2 separate regions of the Homo sapiens genome follow, and region 1 is linked to region 2. Evidence: promoter capture Hi-C in human tissues and cell types (Jung and others, 2019). All regions are on one chromosome and are shown on one strand. The core of a region is centred on a gene start or on the middle of the fragment in contact, and the rest is flanking DNA. Distances in the headings are between cores, read along the strand shown.

Region 1 (5,712 bases), core at 237-2,736, 450 kb after region 2:
TGACCCCCTCACCCCAACACCACCAGGCCTAGAAGGCAGAGTGTTGAAGAGGATTATTCTCCGGGCTTAAGATCTCATGGAATACCTTGTTGGGTTTTGAACTGGCTTGAAACCAACTACCTTTCCTTCTTTCCTGCTTCTTCTTTTGGAATGGGAATGTTTATTCTATGTCTGTCCCACTATTGTATTTTGGAATCAGATAACATATTTGGTTTCAAAGGTTCACAGCTGGAGAAAAATTTTGCCTCATAATGAATTACATCTCAAGTCTCGGCAATATCCAGTTTAGATGATTTTTAGAGAGACTTTAATAACAAACCTGCACATGTACCTCTGAACTTAAAACAAAAGTTAAAGAAAACCTTATTAAGTTAAGAAAAAATATTAGACTTTAAATGTTAGACTTTAGAGTTGAAACTGGAATGCGTTAAGACTTTAGGGGCACTGGTCACTTCCAAGATGGCCAAATAGGAACAGCTCTGGTCTATAGCTCCCAGCAAGATTGACAAAGCAGATGGGTGATTTCTGCATTTCCAACTGTGGTACCTGATTCATCTCATTGGGACTGGTTGGACAGTGGGTGCAGCCCATGGAAGGCAAGCTGAAGCAGGGTGGGGCATTGCCTCACCGGGGAAATGCAAGGGGTTGGGGGATTTCCCATTCCTAGCCAAGGGAAGCCGTGAGTGACTGTACCTGGAGGAGTGGTACACTTCTGCCCAAATACTGCACTTTTCCCATGGTCTTCACAACCTGCAGACCAGGAGATCCCCTCCTGTGCCTGGCTCAGCAGGTCCTATGCTCACAGAGCCTTGCTTGCTGCTAGCGCAGCAGTCTGAGATCAACCTGGGATGCCGGAGCTTGGTGGGGGGAGGGGTGTCCACCATTGCTGAGGCTTGAGTAGGTGGTTCTATGTTCACAGTGTAAACAAAGTGGCAGGGAAGCTCGAACTGGGTGGAGCCCACTGGAGCTCAGCAAGGCCTACTGCCTCTCTAGATTCCACCTATGAGGGCAGGGCATATCTGAACAAAAGGCAGCAGACAGCTTCTCCATACTTAAACATCCCTGCCTGACCATTCTGAAGAGAGCAGTTGTTCTCCCAGCACGGCATTCGAGCTGCAATAACAGACAGACTGCCTCCTCAAGTGGGTCCCTGACCCCTGTGTAGCCTGACTGGGAGACACCTCCCAGTAGGGGCTGACAGACACCTCATACAGGTGGGTGCCCCTCTGGGATGAAGCTTCCAGAGGAAGGATCAGGCAGCAATATTTGCTATTCTGCAGCCTCTGCTGGTGATACCCAGGCAAACAAGGTCTGGAGTGGACCTCCAGCAAACTCCAACAGACCTGCAACTGAGAGGCTTCTCTGTTAGAAGAAAAACCAACAAACAGAAAAGAATAGCATCAACATCAACAAAAAGGACATCTACACCAAAACCTCATCCATAGGTCACCAACATCAAAGACCAAAGGTAGATAAAACCACAAAGAGGGGAGAAACCAGAGCAGAAAGGCTGAAAATTCCAAAAACTAGAACACCTCTTCTCCTCCAAAGGAACACAACTTCTCACCAACAAGAGAACAAAACTGGTTGGAGAATGGGTTTGACGAGTTGGCAGAAGTAGGCTTCAGAAGGTCGGTTATAACAAACTTCTCTGAGCTAAAGGATCATGTTCTAACTCATTGCAAGGAAGCTAAAAACCTTGAAAAAAGGTTAGACGAATGGCTAACTGGAATAACTAGTGTAGAGAAGACCTTAAATGACCTGATAGAACTGAAAATCACAGTATGAGAACTTCGTGAAGCATACACAAGCTTCAATAGCCGAGTCGAACAAGTGGAAGAAAGGATATCAGTGATTGAAGATCAAATTAATGAAATAAAGCAAGAAGACAAGATTAGAGAAAAAAAGAGTGAAAAGAAATGAACAAAGCCTCCAAGAAATATGGGACTATGTGAAAAGACCAAATCTGTGTTTGCTTGGTGTTCCTGAAAGTGACGGGGGGAATGGAACCAAGTTAGAAAACACTTTTCAGGATATTATCTGGGAGAACTTCCCCAACCTAGCAAGGCAGGCCAACATTCAAATTCAGGAAATACAGAGAACACCACAAAGATTCTCCTTGAGAAGAGCAACCCCAAGACACATAATTGTCAGATTCACCAAGGTTGAAATGAAGGAAAAAATGTTAAGGGCAGCCAGAGAGAAAGGTTGGGTTACCCACAAAGGGAAGCCCACCAGACTAACAGCGGGTCTCTCTGCAGAAACCCTACAAGCCAGAAGAGAGTGGGGACCAATATTCAACATTCTTAAAGAAAAGAATTTTCAACCCAGAATTTCATATTCAGCCAAACAAAGCTTCATAAGTGAAGGAGAAATAAACTCCTTTACAGACAAGCAAATACTGAGAGATTTTGTCACCACCAGGCCTGCCTTACAAGAGCTCCTGAAGGAAGCACAAAACATGGGAAGGGGCCAGGCGTGGTGGCTCACACCTGTAATCCCAGCACTTTGGGAGGCTGAGGTGGGCAGATCACGAGGTCAGATCGAGACCATCCTGGCTAACATGGTGAAACCTCATCTCTACTAAAAATTATAAAAAATTAGCCAGGCATGGTGGTGGCTGAGGCAGGAGAATGGCATGAACCCAGGAGGTGGAGCTTGCAGTGAGCTGAGATCACGCCACTGCACTCCAGCCTGGGTGACAGAGCAAGACTCCATCTCAAAAAAAAAAAAAAAAAAAAACAACAAAAACCATGGAAAGGAGTAACTGGTACCAGCCACTGCAAAAACATGCCAAATTGTAAAGGCCATCGATGGTATGAAGAAACTGCATCAATTAGTGGGCAAAATAACCAGCTAGCATCATAATGACAGGATCAAATTCACACATAACAATATTAACCTTAAATGTAAATGGGCTAAATGCCCCAATTAGAAGACACAGACTAGCAAATTGGATAAAGAGTCAAGACCCATTGGTGTGCTGTATTCAGGAGACCCATCTCATGTGAAAAGACACACAGGCTCAAAATAAAGGGATGGAGGAAGATCTACCAAGTAAATGGAAAGCAAAAAAAAGCAGGGGTTGCAATCCTGGTCTCTGATAAAACAGACTTTAAACCAACAAAGATGAAAAGAGACAAAGGAGGCCATTACATAATGGTAAAGGGATCTATTGAACAAGAAGAGCTAACTATCCTAAATATATATGCACCCAATACGGGAGCACCCAGATTCACAAAGCAAGTTCTTAGAGACCTACAAAGAGACTTAGACTCCCACACAATAATAATGGGAGACTTTAACACCCCACTATCAATATTAGACAGATCAATGAGACAGAAAATTAACAAGGATATTCAGAACTTGAACTCAGCTCTAGACCGAGTGGACCTAATAGACATCTACAGAACTCTCCACCCCAAATCAACAGAATATACATTCTTCTCAGCACCACATCACACTTATTCTAAAATTGACCACATAATTGGAAGTAAAACACTCCTCAGCAAATGCAAAAGAAGAGAAATCACAACAAACTGTCTCTCAGACCACAGTGCAATCAAATTAGAACTCAGGATTAATAATCTCACTCAAAACTGCACAACTACATGGAAACTGAACAACCTGCTCCTGAATGACTACTGGGTAAATAACAAAATGAAGGCAGAAATAAAGATGTTCTTTGAAACCAATGAGAACAAAGACACAACGTACCAGAATATCTGGGGCACATTTAAAGCAGTGTGTAGAGGGAAATTTATAGCACTAAATGCCCACAAGAGAAAGCAGGAGAGATCTAAAATTGACACCTTAACATCACAATTAAAAGAACTAGAGAGACAAAAGCAAACAAATTCAAAAGCTAGTAGAAGACAAGAACTAAGATCAGAGCAGAACTGAAGGAGATAGAGACACAAAAAAACCCTTCAAAAAATCAATGAATCCAGGAGCTGGTTTTTTGAAAAGACCAACAAAATAGACCACTAGGAAGACTAATAAAGAAGAAAAGACAGAAGAATCAAATAGATGCAATAAAAAATGATAAAGGGGATATCAGCACCGATCCCACAGAAATACAAATTGCCATCAGAGAATGCTAGAAATACCTCTATGCAAATAAACTAGAAAATCTAGAAGAAATGGATAAATTCATGGATACATACACCCTCCCAAGGCTAAACCAGGAAGAAGTTGAATCTCTGAATAGACCAATAACAGGTTCTGAAATTGAGGCAATAATTAATAGCCTACCAACCAAAAAAAGTCCAGGACCAAATGGATTCACAGCCATTCTACCAGAGGCACAAAGAGGAGCTGGTACCATTCCTTCTGAAACTACTGCGATCAAAGAAAAAGAGGGAATCATCCCTAACACATTTTATGAAGCCAGCATTATCCTGATACCAAAGCCTGGCAGAGACACAACAAAAAAAGAGAATTTCAAGGCAACATACCTGATGAACATTGATGTGAAAATCCTCAATAAAATACTGGCAAACTGAATCCAGCAGCACATCCAAAAGCTTATCTACCACAATCAATTCAGCTTCATCCCTGGGATGGAAGGCTGGTTCAACACACGCAAATCAATAAACGTAATCCATCACATAAACAGAACCAATGACAAAAAACACATGATTATCTCAATAGATGCAGAAAAGGCCTTTGACAAAATTCAGCAGCCTTTCATGCTAAAAAGTCTCAATGAACTAGGTATTGATGGAACATATCTCAAAATAATTAGAGCTATTTATGACAAACCCACAGCCAATATCATACTGAATGGGCAAAAACTGGAAGCATTCCCTTTGAAAACTGGCACAAGACAAGGATGCCCTCTCTCACCACTCCTATTCAACATAGTATTGGAAGTTCTGGCCAGGGCAATCAGGCAAGAGAAAGCAATAAACAGTATTTGAATAGAAAGAGAGGAAGTCAAATTGTTTCTGTTTGCAGATGACATGATTATATATTTAGAAAACCCCATCGTTTCAGCCCCAAATCTTAAGCTGATAAGCAACTTCAGCAAAGTCTCAGGATACAAAATCAATGTGCAAAAATCACAAGCCTTCCTATACACCAATAACAGACAAATAGAGAGCCAAATCATGAGTGAACTCCCATTCACAATTGCTACTAAGATAATAAAATACCTAGGAATACAACTTACAAGGGATGTGAAGGACCTCTTCAAGAAGAACTACAAACCACTGCTCAAGGAAATAAGAGAGGACACAAACAAATGGAAAAACATTTCATGCTCGTGGATAGGAAGAATCAATATAGTGAAAATGTCCATACTGCCCAAAATAATTTATAGATTCAGTGCTATCCCCATCAAGCTACCACTGACTTTCTTCACAGAATTGGAAAAAACTACTTTAAACTTCATATGGAAACAAAAAAGACAATCCTGGGCAAGAAGAACAAAGCTGGAGGTATCACACTACCTAACTTCAAACTTTGCTACAAGGCTACAGTAACCAAAACAGCATGGTACTGGTACTAAAACAGATATATATATATATATATATATATATATATATATGAATAGAACAGAATGGAGGCCTCAGAAATAACACCACACATCTACCACCATCTGATATTTGACAAACCTGACACACACAAGCAATGGGGAAATGATTCCCTATTTAATAAATGGCGTTGAGAAAACTGGCTAGCCATATGCAAAAAATTGAAACTGGACCC
Region 2 (5,433 bases), core at 1,852-4,351:
AAATATCCACTCAGTAGAGAATGGATAAATAAATCATGTCAGAAAAACTAGTTGCAGAAAGATACATACAGTTTAATACCATTTTTATGAGACTCAAAAACAAGCAAAAGTAAATAATATGTTACTAGGCATCCATCCATATATGTATATGTGGTCAATTCTAAAATAAACAAAGGAATGAAAAACACAATTCAAGATAACGCTTATGAAGGGGAGAGGTAAAGGAAGGAGCAGACAGTGATCTTCACTAACGGGAAAGATTCTATTTCTTTTTTTTTTAGTTTAAAATGTATTTTATTTTTAGACAACCTACATAATGTGTTTTTCCATAGGTTCTATTTCTTAAAGTTGAGTGATAGGTTCAAGGGTTTTTGTTATATTATCATGTGACATATGTATTTGTTTTGTATTGTTTTGAGATGGAATCTTGCTCTATTGCCCAGGCTGGAGTGCAATGGCACAATCTTGGCTCACCACAACCTTCGCCTCCCAGATTTAAGCAATTCTCCTGCCTCAGCCTCCCGAGTATCTGGGACTACAGGCGCATGCCACCATGCCTGGCTAATTTTTGTATTTTTAGTAGAGATGGGGTTTCACTATGTTGGCCAGGCTGGTCTCGAACTGCTGACCTCGTGATCTACCCGCCTTCGCCTCCCAATGTGCTGGGATTACAGGCATGAGCCACCACGTCCAGACTTATGTATTTGTTTTTATTCATATGTTCATTATTGTCTCATATAACACAGTTTTAACAGCTTTATTATGGTGTACTTTACATACCATAAAATTCACCTGTCTTAAGTGTATAATTCAAAGATTTTTAGTAAATGTACAGAATTATGCAATCATTGCCACAAAGTGGCAACAGAAAATTTTCATCACCACAAAAAAAATCTCTCTTGCCTCTGCAATCACTGCCCCTTCCACCTCTAGCCCCAGGCGAATTTGTTTTCTAATGCTAACCTTATTAATTAATAATACTAATATAATCTTATTATATAACTAATATAACTAAAACTAATCTGTTTTTCATCTCTATAAATCAACATTTTCTGGACATTTAATTTAAATGGAATAATGTAATATGTGATCTTTTGTGCTTGTATTCTTTTACTTAGCATAATATTTTTTTGACATTCATCCATGTCATAGCAATTATCGCTAATTCAGTCATTTTTAAGGATGAATAATATTTCAGAATATGGATGTACCACATTTTGTTTATTCACCTGTTAATGGACATCTGGGCTGTTTCTAGATTTTGGCTGTTATGCTGTTATGATTATTCCTATTCAAGTCTTTGTGTGAACACTGTTGTCATTTCTCTTATGTAGCTATCCAGGAGTGGAATTGGTGGGTCATAACTGGCCATTTTTAAATCTAAAAAAAGAGAAGAAATGGGGTCTTTGTTTCTTTCAAACTCGAATAAAAGAATTAACTAGGGAATAGATGGTGTATTTCTTTCCAGATGCTGGAATGAAAGATAAGGACACATATTATACTGAATATAGAAGCAAGAATCCATTGACATAAGAAGACGGTAAAGGAAAATAAACTAGTTATCTTCTGAGGAGCAGGTACAGTTAAAAACGAAATTAGGACAAAGAAAGTTGTATAGCAGCAGCTTGGAAGGGAGATGATTCACTTCAAAGGTACAACTGCCACTGCTTTTTATACAAACACATGCTTGTGGGATTATCAAATATATTAATAATGTCTATAAACATTTTTAAGGAAATGTAAAAACTTGAAATTCTTTTGACTACTCTAGATTTTCTGAGAAAGATAGCTATTTAGGCCGGACCCAGTGGCTCATGCCTGTAATCCTAGGACTTTGGGAGGCTGAAATGGGAAGATCGCAGTTTGAGACCAGGACTTTGAGACCAGCCTGGGCAACATAGAGAGATCCCATCTTGAACTTCTGAGCTCAAGCCATTTGCCTGCCTCAGCCTCCCAAAGTGCTGGAATTATGGGCAGGAGCCACCACGCCTGGCCCAAGAGACCCTATCTCTACCAAACAAACAAACAAACAAAAAAGATAATAAGATTTATTGTTTGCATTGATTTTTTGTGTGTAGATGTGTAATACATAAAATGGCAAATGAGGGGGAAAAGTGTTTGGGTCATATTAAACAATGAAGTTGTGAAATACCTGAGATTTTGTTTCATAACCACTAATCTTCAATGTTGAGCATTTAAAATGTATTTGTTCCAGTTTTTTTTCTCTGTAATTCCTTAGACATCTGTGCAGATTTTCATTCCCACGTAAGAAGCAATAACAGACTAATGTCATCCTGGACATTTCCAGGAATTGGTTTCCTAGTTGCTCTGAGGAAGATTGCCTTTTAAAAGAAAGCTCTGATCTGTTCTTTACCAGTTCCACTTGACCTGAATTTGACATTTCTTTAAGAGACAACTAAATCAAGATCATGTGTCTGTGACATGTATTGCATATGCTAGTTAGCTGCATCTGATAGCAGTCTGTAAAAAGAAAGATGATAACATGTTTATTTTAGACATTAGGTAATGTTCATCTTTCATGAAAAAAATTGATTAGCCAATTTTGGTAATCAAAAACATAAATGGGAGTAAAAAAGGCAGTCATTGGGAAGTACTGCTGTATGGACTTGTGAAACAACTAGTTGTCCAGAGCCTTGCTACAACGTATAGAAATATTCTATTTTCTGTATTTGGGGCGGCTACACTACAAGATGAAGACGGGGAAATGTTTTCCAACTCATCGCTCAGGTCCTACTGCAACATAACTTTCTTGAGGTAAGTACCTTTCTTTGTGTTTCCTTAACACTCTCTATTTTCCCCATCACATACACTAAAAAGATTATCTTTGGTGCATCTGTATTTACACAGCAGTGTTAAATTTGGGCTGCCCTCTGCCCCGCCTCCGTCCCCCAGGCTCTTTTCACTCCCCGCTGGGTCCCAGATCCTAGGGTTTAGCTCAGGCTCCGCCCTACTCCTTGGTTGGCTGTTGGGTGGGAGGCTCGTTTCTTCCCTCCCTATTGGTCGCCCAGGGGGAGGCGCGTTTCCCATCTCCTGATAGGCCGCGCCGAGGAGAGTCTCTCCAGTTTGCGGCACTGTTGTCATTTCCGGGGTAAGATGGCTGCAGTCCGTATGCTGAGAACCTGGAGCAGGAATGCGGGGAAGCTGGTAAGCACGTTTGGGCAGATCTGAGGCCGGGAAGGAGTGATTTGTCCGGAGTCATCCAGGAGTGGTGTTTTACTTTCTCCTCCGGTGCCAGGCGTCCAGGGCACGCGTGATGGAGAGGTGAAGGGATGCATGCAAAATAAAGGGCAGAGAACGGAGCGAGTCGACCAGTCTGGAGTGGAAACCCACTCCCTCCCCTTACCTGGAAGCGCTTCTGCAGCGACTCAGCCGTCCTGCTCCATCTGTACCCCGAGGCCCAGCTAGCGTTTTATTGAGCGCCTTCCAGGTGCCCAGGCATTGTGATAGGCGCTGTGGATCCAGAGATATATTCGTTTAGCATTTATTGCGTACCCACAGTATGCCAAACACTGGTAACACGACCCCTACCCTCAAGGAATCTACAGTGTGTAGAGGAAGAGGCCGTTCAAGTTATAGAATATCAGCAGGGGTCCCTGCTTCCGAAGAACTGAGCAGCTCGGCGTCACTCTTTTGCCTTGTACTTCTATGTCCGCACCACATATCATTCCTACCCTTTTGTCACCAAGGCTGTGACCCATCACCATCTCCCCTGCACTTCCTTCTCTTTCTCCCAGTCTTAGCACCAAGCACTGACACATACCGGTAATGATACTTGTTACCCCTATTTGCTTAGTGTTTCTTCTTCCTGCCTCTTCTCCCTTTCCCTAGATGCTCCTGCCTTGGTGACCCCGATCTTACAAAAACTTTCAAGAGCCTGCTATGTACCAGTGCTGTGTTAGGCACTGGAGATACAAATATGAAATAGACATCATATCTTCCTTCTCAAGAGATTACAACCTTGTGGTGGAGGACAAAGGAGAGGGAGACAGATAGAAATTACAACCCAGCATGAGAGGTACTGTGATGGGACAAGTGCCTAGAACTACAGGAACACACAGGAGTGGACACCTATGGTGGACTTGGGGGTCAGAGGAGTTCCCAGAGGATACTGTATGACTTGAGATGTAAGAAGGATAAGTAAGAGATAACCAGGAGAAGAGAGCTCTTCTCAGCAACACTTAACACATATTGGTCTCTCTTCTTTCTAGAGCTTTCCATTCTTGTTTTCTGTGACACCAGTTTCCCAATATTATTCTTTCTTCATCTTTGGCCACTTCATCCCAATATCCTGTTTCCCTTCCCGCCTTTTAAATATTGCTTTTTCTAAAGGGCTCTGACTTTGGCCCTCTGCACTTTTCCCACTTTCTGGGTTATCCCATCCACTCTTTGGCTTTAGTTACCATCTATGCTGATGAGTCCTAAAGTTCCCCAGTCTTCCAACCAGGTCTACTCCAAACCCATATATCCTACTGTCCTGGAAATCTCCAGTTTCATATGTACGTGATGTTTTCCAGCTGCAATTAAAAACCCAACCAATAAATAGGAAATTAAGTATCCATGCATACAGAGCATCCCCAATTAGATGTCAGCTCACATTAAGTGGCTTATGATTATCAATGTCGTCATTTCCCTAGTAGTTCATTTGTCCTTTTCCTACTGTATACAAGAGGGCTGCTACGACTTCTTCTTTTATGTTGAAGGCAGGAAGGTGGAAGAGGAGGAGGTTCCAGTCTCACTGGCCAGAACTGTGTTACATGGCCCCGGCTAGCACAAGGGAGCTTAGAAAAACTTGTCTTTTTTTTTTTTTTTTTTGAAATGGAGTCTCTCTCTGTCACCCAGGCTGGAGTACAGTGGTGCGATCTTGGCTCACTGCAACCCCTGCCTCCCAGTTTCAAGCGATTCTTTTGCCTCAGCCTCCCAAATATCTGGGACTACAGGCACACGCCACCATGCCCAGCTAATTTTTGTATTTTTAGTAGAGACGAGGTTTCACCATGATGGCCAGGCTGGTCTCAAACTCCTGACCTCAAGTGATCCGCCTGCCTTGGCCTCCCAAAGTGCTGGGATTACAGGATGAGCCACCATGCCCAGCAGAAAAGCTTGTCTTTAGTCTTCTCACAGTGTCTGCCGTAAAGCTTCAAAGCAGGTCAGACTCTCCAGCCTCTAGAACTGAACCCTCAAACCAGTTTCTCTTAATTTTTTTTTTTTTTTTTTTTGAGAAGAGTCTTGATCTGTTGCCCAGGCTGGAGTGCAGTGGTGCAATCTCGGCTTACTGCAACCTCCACCTCCTGGGTTCAAGTGATTTTCCTGCCTCAGCCTCCCAAGTAGCTGGCACTACAGGCGCGAACCACCATGCCTGGCTAATTTTTGTATTTTTAGTAGAGACGGGGTTTTGCCATGTTGGCCAGGCTG

Evidence for each region. Contacts are between HindIII fragments. The study calls those that stand out against the background at their distance.
Region 1: a contact is called between a fragment that was not itself captured here and the fragment with the promoter of DBT in region 2, in 2 of the 25 tissues and cell types used here (spleen and stomach).

Annotation. Positions count from the first base shown.
Region 1 is chr1:99,795,786-99,801,497 of GRCh38, reverse strand. No RefSeq gene overlaps it. Among named protein-coding and RNA genes, the nearest start is that of FRRS1, 32 kb to the right of the region's middle. The HindIII fragment of the contact is 3,911 bases long and covers 1-3,441 here.
Region 2 is chr1:100,247,502-100,252,934 of GRCh38, reverse strand. DBT (dihydrolipoamide branched chain transacylase E2) reads left to right here and starts at 3,101. Exons shown (of 11, transcript NM_001918.5): 1 at 3,101-3,165. The coding sequence starts at 3,115. RefSeq lists a silencer at 2,882-2,981 and enhancers at 3,092-3,211, 2,813-3,372, 3,373-3,932. The HindIII fragment of the contact is 17,632 bases long and covers 1-5,433 here.